Regions from separate parts of the Homo sapiens genome. Here regions 1, 3 and 4 are each linked to region 2. The links are contacts of gene promoters, found by promoter capture Hi-C in blood cells and fetal thymus (Javierre and others, 2016). All regions are on one chromosome and are shown on one strand. The core of a region is centred on a gene start or on the middle of the fragment in contact, and the rest is flanking DNA. Distances in the headings are between cores, read along the strand shown. Region 1 overlaps LRRC40 (leucine rich repeat containing 40). Region 2 holds the start of HS2ST1 (heparan sulfate 2-O-sulfotransferase 1). Region 3 holds the start of AGL (amylo-alpha-1,6-glucosidase and 4-alpha-glucanotransferase). Region 4 holds the start of SERBP1 (SERPINE1 mRNA binding protein 1).

Region 1 (3,140 bases), core at 532-3,031, about 17 Mb before region 2:
TGGATGAACCTCAAAAACATGATTCTAAACAAAAGAAGCCCTAAGCGAAAAAAAAAATTGCAAATGTATTATTTCATTTACATGCAATTTTAAAAGAACTAAAATTAATCTACATTGACAAAAAGCAGATCCGTAGTTATGTGGAGCCAATAGCAGGATTGACAGCAAAGGGGCACAAGTAAACTTTTCAAGATGTTGGAAATGTTCTATATCTTGATTGTAGTACTGGTTACATGATGGTATATATTTGTCAAAAGTCATTAAACTGTACACTTAAAATGGATGCAACATACTCTTTGTAAATGATACTTCAATAAAGTTAACCCCAAAAAAGAATAATTTTAAAATATAGGTGATGTAACACATCAAGGCAATTCTATCGGAAAAATATACACATATAACATATATCACAGGGTAGATACAATATCCTTAAGCAGCATGGCTCAACAGAACTTTCTACAATGACGTAAATGCCCTACGTTGGCACTATTCAATAGGATAGCTACTAGCCACATATGGCTACTGGGCACTTGCAATGTGGTTAAAGTAACTGATGAACTTGATTTTTAATTTTATTTAATTTTGATTATTTAAAAGTTAAAAAGCCAACATGAGTACAGGCTTCCACAATGGACAACATGGTCCTTATAGATACTGGGGGGCGGCGGGGGGGAGGAAGATGTATAGATGTATTTTTTTATTTTATTTTATTTTTTTTTGAGAGCCTGTCACCCAGGCTGGAGTACAGTGGTGTGATCATAACTCACTGCAGCCTCGAACTCATGGCTTCAGGAGATCCTCCTGCCTCCGTCTTCCAAGTAGCTAGAACTATGAGGACTACAGGCATGTGCCACCACATCCAGCTTATTTTTTGTAGAGACAGGGTCTCATTATGTTGCCCAGATTGGTCTCAAACTCCTGGTCTCAAGTGATCCTCCCACCTTGGCCTCCCAAAGTGCTGGGATTATAATCATGGGCAATCACACCTGGCCCCCCCAACCCCCGGCTTTTTTTTTTTTTTTAAGCAAACTGTCTTACTCTTTTTTCCACTGGTAACAGCTAAATATAGAAATGAGGACTCACAAATGGGTTGATCACAGAGAACTATCTAGTTTGGGGAGGACATTTATATGATATGGGTGGATAAAGAGACAGAGAAGAAATAAAAAACATGCTTAAAATGGTGTTTGCACAGAAGGATAAAAGAATGTGGCTGGGTGCAGTGGCTCATGCCTGTAATCCCAGCACTTTGAGAGGTCAAGGCAGGTGGATCACCTGAGGTCAGGAGTTTGAGACCAGCCTGACCAACATGGTAAAACCCCATCTCTACTAAAAATACAAATTTTTGTATTTTTAGTAGAGACGAAGTTTTGCCTTGTTGCCCAGACTGGTCTTGAACTCCCAGGCTCAAGTGATCCGCCTGCTTCCACCTCCCAAAGTGTTGGTATTAAAGGTGTGAGCCACAGCACCTGACCCCGTGTCACACTTTTTATTCTGTCCCAACAAACTATACATATTGAATAGGGCAAATTCTCATTACCCTAAAATAGTAGGTTTTCTTCATGATTAGGTGCCCTAGACCAAATTACTTAACTACACAAATAAAAGCTAACCAAACTGCTCTCTTCAAGATAAGGCAGGATAGCCTTACACCCATATTTCCCTTTCAAATAATTGGTTTCCAAGCTAATTTAACTGGCTTATTTAATGAATTATCCTCTTAATTTGCCTTTCAGATCAACAGTGCAGTTTCCATTAGAATTTACAGTATTCTTTTGTTCCAAACTCTGGCACCTTTTATTTTTCCTCAGTTTTAGATAATCATCCAATAACATTCTTGCACTACTGTTCTACCATGGTCATGCAACTGGAAAGCAACGATCAACACCTCCAACTCCATCTTCATTTTATCTAGTCCGACGAAAAAGAGCTGCAATATTGAACCAAACTGACAACATATTCTCATGTTGCTGCTCATAAAAAGAGCTGTCACTTACATGTACAGTATTTTTCTTTGAAGTTGGTTATTAACAATTATTCCTATTTGAGAATATCTTTCTAAATAAGTTATAGAACTGACACTCAGAATGATTACTTAAAAATTGCGAACAAAATTTGAATGTTTAAATATGAATACATATTAATTAATAGTAGTCATAAGATGGACTATTATACAGCCACTAAAAATAATAAGATTTTTCAAGTGACAAGGAAAATGTACAAATAGAAGCCAGAAAAACAGGAGTCAGTACAATTCTAAATTTGTTAAAAATAAAAAATAGGGCCAGGCACAACAGTTCATGCCTGTAATCCCAGCACTTTGGGAGGGTGAGTTGGACAGGTCGCTTGAGCTCAGGAGATCAAGACCAGCCTGGGTAACATAGCAAGACCTCATCTCTACAAAAAATATAAAAATTGGCCAGGCATGGTGGCACATCCCTGTAGTCTCAGACACTCAGGGAGCTGAGGTGGGAAAATCACTTTTGAGATAAGGAAGTCAAGGCTGCAGTGAGCCGTGATCTCACCACTGCATTCCAGCCTGGGCAACAGAGTGAGATCCTGTCTCAATCAATAAATAAACTAAATTAGATAAAAAAATAAAAAATAGCAGTCAAATTATACATAGTCTCACACACACACACACACACACACACACACACACACACAGTATTAGAAGAAAAACCTCCACAACATTAACAGTGACTAACTCTGGTTGGCTTCTTCACTTTTTATGCTTTTCTCTATAGATTCTAATCTTTCTACAGCAGACCTGCTTTTATGAATACGAAAATAATAAATGGTATTTTTCAAAAAAGAACTAGAGCCTACAAAAACAAAGTACAGTTTATCCTCGCACAATATGGGTTTGAATTGCACAGGTTCACTTATATATGGATTTTCTGCTGCCTCTGCCACCCGTGAGAAAGCAAGACCATCCCCTCCTTTTCCTCCTCCTCCTCAGCCTACTCAATGTGAAGATGAGAATGAAGACCTTTATGATGATCCACTCCACTTGATGAATAGTAAATATATTTTCTCTTCCTTATGATTTTCTTAATAACATTTTCTTTTCTCTAGCTTACTATTGTAAGAACGTAGTATATAATACATATAATATACAAATATATGTTAATTGACTG
Region 2 (3,427 bases), core at 928-3,427:
CCTCCCATGTAGAGATGAAATCTATTTCTCCATCCCTGAATGTGAACTAGTCTTGTGACTTGCTTTGAGAAATATGTGATGGAAGTAATATATGTGATTTCCAAGGCAAGGCTTTAGAAGGCATTGTAGCTTTTGCTCTTTTGGAGTGCTGCCCTGAGAGTGCCATGAAAAGAAGTTGGTCTAGCCGACTGGAGGATGAGAGGTCACACGGAACAGAACCAAGTCCTCGAGCTGACAGCACCAACTATAAACAGTGGTAATCCTGGAACCTTTCGGTTTAGCTGACCTACTAGGTCAACAAAAAGCATAAATGAGGCCAGGGGAAAACCAACATAGGTGGAGTAGTTCTACTCCACTGACCCAGAATTATGAGAAATCATTGCTGTTTTAAGCTACTAGGTTTTAGGGCGGTTACACAGCTATAGACAACTGACAGTCAAAGACAGAGGGAGATCAAAAAAAGACAACCTGAAATGTTATCTCGAATGACCTAAAGATGTGCAAAAACCCTTAAACAGTAGAAAGTTTAGGGAGAGGTGATCCAGTAATTCCTAGCACCAAATGCCTGAATAACAAGATAATTGGAATGTTAATTACAGAAGTTAAGAATCTACCTTTTGGTTAAAGTAGCCAAAGCAAACAGCCAGGATGCTTTCAAGCTCTTTGAGAAAGGTAAGTACAGGTGTTCATAGAGGACTCCGGTGTAGTCCCTTAACACCCTCAACCTTGGATAAGTAAATTAAACCAGGTCTCCTTATTAGAGACTACCCGAAGAATTAAGCTAGGATAAAAAAACGTAAAAGCTTTCAGCACTGTGCCTAAAATTTTACTATTCACACAGCAGAACATGGATATGAGAAGAAATAAGTTAAAAGTACACTTTTCCCATTCAAAGGTCACCCATCTATTCTGCCAATAGAGAAAAATGAAATAAAAAACGCTGCCTTAAAGAAGACAACGAACATCATTTAAAAAACTAACTTCAAAAATGAATTATACTTTGGTATAGATAACTCCTTTTACTCCAACAACATTGTTTAAAAGCACAAATCGCACTCAAGCGCAGCCAGCCGTATATGAATAGCAGAGGAGAACGGAAGTTAAGAGACTAACAGAAGTAGTGAAAATGAGAGAGCACGCGCGCGAGAGAGGTAAACACAAACTGTTCGCCTGGACCAACGACTTGAAGACTTGCCTCTAAGAGTTGGAAGTCTCGTCATGAGTCTCTTGCATTTCTGTCCATTTAAAAACAACCTCCACTTCTTGCCAAGCTTTATTATTCCCCCCTCCCACCTGGTGTGGTTTACAGATTGTTTTTAGCAAGAGCCGTATAAGAGAAGCTACGTACCCAAGACAATCTGAAATCAAGAGAAAACTGCTGCTAGAAACCCAAGGCGGGGAAGGAGAAGGATCAACCGAGAAATTAAGCCACGTTGCATTCTGGCCGCAGCAGTCATTAAGGAAGCGCAGTCCTCCCCACCCTTTTCAACCAGGACCGAATGTTGCGTCTTTCTCAGCTGCAATCACTCCTACTCTCCCTGTGGCAGCTGCGAAGGTGATCTACACTCACCGCTTGAAGCACAGTCGCCAACAACAACCGTAGCCCAAACGCCGGCACCAGACACCCACTCGGCCCAGCCGCCATCGCTACCATTTTCCGCAGGTTTCTGGCTGCCTAGAAGGACCCCTAAGCTAGGGGCGTCCACTCCAGAGCCTGATCCAAAACAGAACGCTAACGGCCGTTGCCCTTACATCTCTCATTTGGAAGTGACAGGTATTAAATAACGGCATATGAAAGCTTAAAAGTCATCAAATACAATCACTGGGTGCTTTCGATTACCCAAATCAGGCACTTGCCTAAACTCCCCACTTCTTTACTTCTGCGGTCTCCTTTCTTTTATTCACGACACTTCGTCAAGCAGCCAAGAAGCCACGCCTTCGCCAGTTTTAGCCCCGCCTTCTTCTCCAAGTTTACCCAATTGAATGTCGTCTTGATTGAGCTCTGTGGCAGAGGAAACCAACCGTAAACCGAACCAAGAGCGAAGCGCAGGGGCTCTTCCGTCCAATAAGCGGACCCGAACGGGGGGAGGGGCGGGGCTTCTGGTTGCCGAGCAGCGTACGCGGATGCGTGCGCGTGGTGGCGGAGGGGGATGGGCGGGGGCGGGGATGAGGGCGGCGCAGCCGCAGCGCCGGTGGAGGGGCGCGCGGCCGCGAGCAAAGGAGGGAGGGAAGGAAGGAAGAGAGGGAGGCGGGCAAGCAGGCGGGCGCGGGGGTCGGGGACTGAGGCAGTAGAGGGAGGCGAGAGCCCGGCAGCCGCTTCGCGCTGTTTGCTGCGCGGGCTTTTGGAGGGGGCGGCCGTTTAGTCGGCTGAGGAGAAGCGGACACCAGCGGCGTTGGTGATAGCGCCTGGGGGAGGGGGACTGGAGAGGCGAGAAGGGGGGTCGCTGCGGTGGTTCTCTCGCTGTCGCTCTCTCTTTGCCTCGCTCCCGGCTCGGCGGGCTCCTCCCGGCGTCTCTCTCGCCTCCGGGGTCCCGCTCCCCGCCCCCCGCGGTATGTCTTGATCCCGAGCAGCGGGTTTCATGGGGCTCCTCAGGATTATGATGCCGCCCAAGTTGCAGCTGCTGGCGGTGGTGGCCTTCGCGGTGGCGATGCTCTTCTTGGAAAACCAGATCCAGAAACTGGAGGAGTCCCGCTCGAAGCTAGGTGAGGAACTGAACTGCCCCGGGCTGAGTGCTGTGGAAGGGGCCGAGGAGGCGCTGCCGCCGGAGCAAGTGGGCGTTCATCTAACCTGGGGTCTGGCTCGGGGGCTGAAAGCGGTTTCAAAGAGAACCGGGAACAAGGGGCAGCGAGAGCACGAGCTCCAAGAATGGGTTGAATTAAGCTTGAGCGGCGTGCTGGGCTCGCGAGGTCACGGGGCAGAGGTTGCAAGGTTGGGCTTCCCTAGCCAAAGGGTAGCCCCGAAGTAGGCATTCCGCGGAGAGAGAGCGAGAGAGAAGACCGAACTCAGTGGGGAGCGTGTGTTGCTGGTCTCCGGAGACAGAAGCGCTTAGCATCGCGTGTTCTCTTGGAAGTCGTACAGGAAGCCCTGGCAATGTCAGATGAGGGGTATTCTAATTTGAGCTATGGGCATCTGGATACGAATTCTTTTGGGGGCTCATGAAGGGATAGGTGCGCAGAAATGGGAGGAGATGCTGGGATGACGGAGAGCAACATGTGAACACTGTAGCGAGTTGCACTCTTGTGCTCCGGGCAGCAAAGGACCTTGTAATTGCCAGCTGAGGGAGGCTGGCCGGGTAGTGCGGGAACGCGAGTGCAAAGCTTCATCGGAGTACGGAAATGAGGGTCCGGAGATTTAAATTCTTCTTTAGTGGCGCTAAACTGATGAATTGGGGCTTGAGAATAGGGATGCCTATGTATGTTGCTTCAC
Region 3 (3,222 bases), core at 50-2,549, about 13 Mb after region 2:
TCCCACCAATAAAATGTAGGAGTTCCTTGAGGGCAGTGACTGTTTTATTGCTGCATTCCCAGCACCTTATGTGCCTGGCAAATAGTAGGGGCCAGAAAATGAGCTGTGGGTTCCCAAAGTCAGTTACGGACCATTTGCAACTAGCCATTCTCAGAAATCTACAGAAATAAACAAATACTTCAGTATGGGGTTTTTTTTTTTAACTTATATCCTCTTTGGACCTACAGTCATTCCACAATAAAGAATGCAAGAATCTTCTCCACACGCCACAAGTCTTAGTTAACCAAATCTTCTGTCCATTTTCTCATAACCATTAGGAGCCCTCCAAAAGCCCTGGAAGATGGGTTTTCCTTTACCCTCAGGCATTAAATCTCCTTAAGCATCTGCAAAAAGTTCTGAGTTACTGGCCTAACATAAGTGCAGCTTAATCTCAGACGATCTCCGGGTCTATCTAGTGTACATGAGGTACACCCGGACACCGTTAAGTATCAGTGGTGTTTGCACTCTCGATGGTTTGCAGACTGGCCACACCTTACCTACTGGGTCTGCATTCAGGAACATGTGTCCTGTCTGTTAGCACTAGAAGTGATGGACACGTGTTGGCTGGAATGTCAAGGCTGTAGCCAGGCCCCTTATTTTAGACACTTAGAAATCAGGACTCTGAGAACTTAGGCCAAGTAAAAATTATCAAAACAAAGAAACAAAACACGTGGTGGCACAAAAGACACCAGAAGCCAGGTCGTTTGCCCCTCACCATTCAGCCCTTCCCAGCAAAAGATCCTACTGTGCAGCTCAACCTAGCTCGCAGCCGGTACCGCGGGATTTTAATGTGCAACTGTGAGCTCGCAGGCTGTTAAAGGAAGGCCGCGCCTTGGCCGGTGCACCTTCCCCAGGGCAAGGAGAAAGCGCCGCTCCCGGCCTCAGCCGCAGCAGGCTCCAGGTCCCCCGGCCCGGAGCCGACTGAGACGGTGCGGTGCCCACGCTCTCGCGAGACTAGCGGTCGGGGCGGGCGGGTCGAGCCTCCCGGAAGTGGGCCAGAGGTACGGTCCGCTCCCACCTGGGGCGAGTGCGCGCACGGCCAGGTTGGGTACCGGGTGCGCCCAGGAACCCGCGCGAGGCGAAGTCGCTGAGACTCTGCCTGCTTCTCACCCAGCTGCCTCGGCGCTGCCCCGGTCGCTCGCCGCCCCTCCCTTTGCCCTTCACGGCGCCCGGCCCTCCTTGGGCTGCGGCTTCTGTGCGAGGCTGGGCAGCCAGCCCTTCCCCTTCTGTTTCTCCCCGTCCCCTCCCCCCGACCGTAGCACCAGAGTCGCGGGTCCTGCAGTGCCCCAGAAGCCGCACGTATAACTCCCTCGGCGTAAGTGCTAGGAATGCCGCTGGCCTCGCGGGGAAACGCATTCTTTCTATCTATAGCTCGCTCTGTACATCTTCTGTCTACGGCAGCTATTCCAGAGGCAACAACTGCTTCCCTCTGTTCTCATCTCCCCATTGGTGGCTGGCGACCCGAATTTGGGAATGGGGAGATTGCCCACCTGTTATCTTTGAGCAGACTAATCTCTTGTAAGCAGAAGTGCCATTCGGAGTCTCCAGAGCCCTGTGGCTTGGGGCTGGGAATGTCCCCCTGACTTCAGGCTTTCCTAAGTGTATTGCTTTTCTCTGAGAATGGTCTAGGTTTTTAATTTTTTAATTGTAAGAATCTGTAATACAGCATTTTTATTTCGGTCTTATTCGTTGTGCTCAAAGGCAGGAAACAACTATTAATTTGCCTTCTCGAATCTTAATAGTTATAAGATTCATTCTCTTTCATTGCTCTGCTAGGCATAAAACACACTTCGAACATGTAAGTGCCGCTGTCAGCTCTGGAGAGTTTAAGGCAATAGTTATTTTCGATATTTTAACTCCTTTTTGTTTCATAGGGGTAACTCATTCGACTGTGGAGTTCTTTTAATTCTTATGAAAGATTTCAAATCCTCTAGAAGCCAAAATGGGACACAGTAAACAGATTCGAATTTTACTTCTGAACGAAATGGAGAAACTGGAAAAGACCCTCTTCAGACTTGAACAAGGTCAGTAGCAAGTTGTTTTGATTTGCTCATTTGCGTCTTTTAAACTTTTAATTCATTGGCAGTCCTGTTAAATGTTTTAAAGCTCTAAGATAAATATTATTTCCAAGGGTCTAAAACTTGATTTGTGCAAAGATGGTGCTGTGTTCTCCATATATCACTAATTAATGTTGATTTGAATTAAAAATATTTTATATCCCTCGTGTTAGGATAAGGATAAAATAGTTCTCTTTTCTCTGCGTACTAATTCCCACTTAAGATTGAAGTTAAATATATGATCAGAAGATTGCCCATATTATTTCTAATAACATTTACTATTAAAACTTGGTAAATTACTTCATATGTAATTTTGCTTTGGGTATGCATGTAGTTTTGCCTTTGTATAACTGTCTCTTTTCCTTTGTTGAACCTTTGAATTGACAAAATAGATTGCAGCAAAAAGTATAGTAAACTATTGTTTATGTATATCAAAAACTTCTCAAATGTGGAGTAGGTAAAAGCTGAAAATATTTTCTTAGCAAATAAAAAGTGCAATAACTCATCTGGTTATGTTGAACTATATATAGTTGATCTGTATTTAAAAGATCAAATTACTTTTCTACAAGGCTAGTTAATAGATGTTTTATTTTCTTAGCCTTTGTAATTTTTCAACATTGAAGAAGTGTAATATATGAAAAATCCAGTCCCCCTTATTAATGTACCAAATGGATGTTGCTAGTCATAAACATTTCAAAGGAATTTTTAAATTTCGCTAATGTTTTAAGAATTAAATTTTTGAAAAAAATTTCACACATACAATGTGATATCTTCATGCCAAATCCGCGCCTTTTTCCAACTTTGGCATTTAAAATCACTGAGTACCTACTCCATTTTTGGCTTTCCTGACTCTGCACTTTTCTGGTTTTGATTTTTTTTTCCCCCTCCCCTGTTGCATATTCTTGTCAACTTGGTGTCTCTTACTAGGCTCTCTTCCTTTCACTTTTTAATTAATTATGGGTATCTGCTAGGAATTCTTTTTCTGTTCTCCTTCAAAGAATTAGTTACACAGTCTCATGGCCTCAACTGTTGCCTCTGTGCTAATGACTACTTTTGGAGGAAAAGCCTTGAGCTTTCTTCTTCTTGGAAGCTTTCAGCATTTGATGACGGGTAGATCTAGAGCCAG
Region 4 (3,151 bases), core at 587-3,086, about 19 Mb before region 2:
TACTTTTTTCCTGTAATGTCTGAAACCCCACAAAGGCAACCAATTTAAATTATTGGTGCCCATAAGGATCAACAGATTGATGGTTAAATTAATGACTTTAAGATTGTTGGTATGCTCTAATTCCCAATTTCTGACAAAGTCATAAAGCAGCTGAGGAATTGGTTTTACAAGATTTTAAGCTGCTTCACTTTGGTTCTTTCTAAGAAAGTAGAACACCATCAAGACACACCCAGTTGTTCTGCTGCCTGTTAACTGGAGCCAAACAGTAACTATCAATCTCTTCAATAGAATTTTGAAGTTCATTCCCTGTAAATACTCAAGATAGACTACAAATATTAGACCTTACACCAAGGTATTTAAATAAATGTCATCAGTAATAAAGTGCACTGGGGTGGAGTTATGGAACCAGTCCTTGCAATAATATCCAAGCCAAACACACCCAAGTGAACAATAGTTGGCGTCCCCACCCAATATCAAGTTTACAGAATCTTAAAAACGTATTAAACCTACCTAATGAAAAAGACTGACATTTAAAAATGCAAGCTTCTTTTGATATACTTATCTATAACTTGCAAGCTCACTAACTGCACTAGTTTCAAGGCATTCATTCTTTTTTAGAAAATCCCTGGTCTACACTCTCAATGACATTCTGCTGTCAATTCTCAAGTTCTTCAAATGGGCAAGAGAATGTACAAAATTAATTCATAAAACATAAACATTAAATATCTGTCTAAAGTATGTCAAGTATTATGTCACAATGTGTTATCAAAATCACAGAACACAATCAGGTTAACCTTCCTACTACATGCAGCGACTTTGTTTACAGATTTATTCCCAGTAATCAGGACAGTAGAATCTCAAAACGGGTATTGTCCATTCAACACTTTTCCTGTATTTTACATGCTTGTATTTTATGCAACTTAACAGTAGTGCTCTGAAATACTGACCTAAGGAAAATGCTGATTGCTAACATGGAATAGTTTTCCCATGGAAAGACTCATTGAACGGTGAACCTAAGTCTTGGTTCTAACTTCATGAAATCATTCCCCACATTTGTTAACTTAAAATACTACTTTTCAGGTAAGAGCTTATTTCATAGATGGGCTTCATGATCAAAATAACTCAGGCATTTAAACCATGCTTCATGTTTTGAACATTCAAAATGAGTGAACACATCTACCTGGTACACATTATTCGTCAGATTCAACTTTTTCGTGTACTTTCTTAAGCTTAAGCATAGTTTAAATAATTACACAAGTCAGCGTTACTTAACACACGAATTAAATGATTTATTTAATTGTGCTAGATTGCCATAAAGCTTAACTGGCTGAAGAGATACTTGGCCTAAGTGATATACATGCTTTCTAATACTCCAACTGTATTTTTCCTCAACCTATAATTTTACCACAAGAATTAATTATTTTCTTTTATTCACCACCTAGGACCGAGGTTCTTCATTCCGAGCCTCACAAAAGTCCTCAAAAAAAAAAAAAAAAACCCTCCTAAAACAAATCCTACCACGAGAAAATTGTTTTGATTTTTAAAATTAGTTCACTGTTACAGAATTCAACTAAAGCTAAAGAGAAACAACTCCTTTCAGAGAAGCACGTGGCAGGAAGGGGTAATTTCAACTTTCAACATATAAATGCAGCTTTAAAGATTCAGACCTTAGGTCCAACACCTGCTTGCTATTGATCATGCACGTTCTTATCTCCAAACTGCTTGCTCTTTTTTTTCATCCGCAACAAACTGGTAAAGCGAATGCAAAAATCAAGACAATCCTGTGAAACTCACAGTGCCCTAGAAACAACTATTAACCGCCAGTGAAACTCTGACCATGCTTCACGCACATGTGGTGGAAAAAAAAAACTGCGAACTCTAAAGAGCTCTGCTGCGACTAACGCTGTGACAGCCTCTGCACTCACTTCACCCACGAGGCCCAGACCCCACCACGTGAAAGATTCAGTTTGGGGAGTCGAGAGAGAGGATCGTGACTCGAGGACGTTCCTCGGGATGTCCTGCAATCACCAGTCTTCATTCATAATTCCCGCTCCTGGTTAATCGAGTGTGGCCAAACTCCTCCATTTCCCAACGGCTCAACTCACCCCAGCAAGTTATGAGAAAGTCCTAACAGTTGAGAGGTGGAAGAGAAACAAATAAAGGACATGCGGCACCCCAACCTGCAGCTTACTCCACACGTCTGATGGCCTGGAACGACCCCCTGCTTTTCAGCGGGGATACTCCGCGCCGTCGTGGGACAAGACGGCAGGACAGGAGCCTGAAACAACAGCACCTCAAAGGAGCAGCTCTGCGCAGTAAGCAGCGATGGACCCCCAAGCTCCTCCGTAACTACGGAAAGCTTCGGTGAGGGGCCGGCTTCCCCGCACCTCAGTCCATGCGCTCACCCGCCAAGGAATCCGGCGGGAAGGCAACAGCCTCCCAGGACCTCGAGCGCGCTCGAGGAGCAGCTCATCTCCGACCACGCTCCTCTGCTCACAACCTGAGGCGGGAAGGGGATGGCTCCGAGAACCTCGCCGGCGGTGGCTTGAACTTGGGGCTACCACGCTCCTGGCACCTTCGCAGGACCGGACTTTTGTCGCGTGAAGAAACGTGAGGATATAGGCGGCAAAGTCTCCCGCGGACCCTCGGAGCTCCAGAAACAAGTGGCAGCCGGCAGCCCCCTCGCTCCTTCCCTCCATCCCAGTCTCCCCCACATTCTGCCCCTGCTTTACCTTCTTTCTTAAGCGCCACGGGCGGCTGCGTCTCCTCTTTCTTGTCAACCACGCCAACGCTGGGGGGCAGCGGGTTCTTGCGGTCTTTCTGGGACTCCTTGCGCAGCTGTTTGCCTGCCGCGTTGGAGTTGGTCTGGGCCGCGGCCTGAGCTGCGCTCTTGGCCCCAGGGCCCCCAACGCCGCCCCCGCCGGCTTCTTTTTTCTTGTTCTCTGCTGCCTTCAGCACCTCGAAGGGGTCCGATTCGTCGTCAAATAACTGGTCGAATCGGTTGGTGACCACGCAGCCGAAGCCTTCCTGTAAGTGCCCAGGCATGATGGTGGCTCGGCGGCGCGTTCCTCCACGGATTGCAGCGGGCCGCGCCGAGCCAAGAGCGCCTGCTTCAGCTCTTCCCACAAGATGGCCGGGCCGAGAGAGGGGG

Evidence for each region. Contacts are between HindIII fragments. The CHiCAGO score rates a contact against its expected background, and 5 or more counts as called.
Region 1: a fragment that was not itself captured here is called in contact with the fragment with the promoter of HS2ST1 in region 2 in 3 of 17 cell types (non-activated CD4 T cells, total CD8 T cells and activated CD4 T cells); the score reaches 12.8 in non-activated CD4 T cells.
Region 3: the fragment with the promoter of AGL here is called in contact with the fragment with the promoter of HS2ST1 in region 2 in 1 of 17 cell types (non-activated CD4 T cells); the score reaches 8.2 in non-activated CD4 T cells.
Region 4: a fragment that was not itself captured here is called in contact with the fragment with the promoter of HS2ST1 in region 2 in 1 of 17 cell types (non-activated CD4 T cells); the score reaches 8.2 in non-activated CD4 T cells.

What each region holds. Positions count from the first base shown.
Region 1 is chr1:70,196,587-70,199,726 of GRCh38, forward strand. All of the region lies in intron 1 of LRRC40 (leucine rich repeat containing 40), which reads right to left. Among named protein-coding and RNA genes, the nearest start is that of LRRC40, 7.4 kb to the right of the region's middle. The HindIII fragment of the contact is 4,461 bases long and covers 1-3,140 here.
Region 2 is chr1:86,912,458-86,915,884 of GRCh38, forward strand. It overlaps HS2ST1 (heparan sulfate 2-O-sulfotransferase 1), which reads left to right and starts at 2,178. Exons shown (of 7, transcript NM_012262.4): 1 at 2,178-2,703. The coding sequence starts at 2,580. SELENOF (selenoprotein F) reads right to left here and starts at 1,669. Exons shown (of 5, transcript NM_004261.5): 1 at 1,571-1,669. The coding sequence starts at 1,654. RefSeq lists enhancers at 966-1,580, 1,429-1,478, 1,581-2,195, 1,589-1,748, 1,799-1,918. The HindIII fragment of the contact is 1,083 bases long and covers 1,797-2,879 here.
Region 3 is chr1:99,849,062-99,852,283 of GRCh38, forward strand. AGL (amylo-alpha-1,6-glucosidase and 4-alpha-glucanotransferase) reads left to right here and starts at 1,300. Exons shown (of 34, transcript NM_000642.3): 1 at 1,300-1,354; 2 at 1,914-2,063. The coding sequence starts at 1,982. RefSeq lists enhancers at 446-1,420, 621-770, 1,421-2,394 and a silencer at 951-1,270. The HindIII fragment of the contact is 4,640 bases long and covers 1-3,184 here.
Region 4 is chr1:67,427,256-67,430,406 of GRCh38, forward strand. SERBP1 (SERPINE1 mRNA binding protein 1) reads right to left here and starts at 3,147. Exons shown (of 8, transcript NM_001018069.2): 1 at 2,733-3,147. The coding sequence starts at 3,045. RefSeq lists enhancers at 1,684-2,320, 2,956-3,151, 3,029-3,151. The HindIII fragment of the contact is 1,041 bases long and covers 1,317-2,357 here.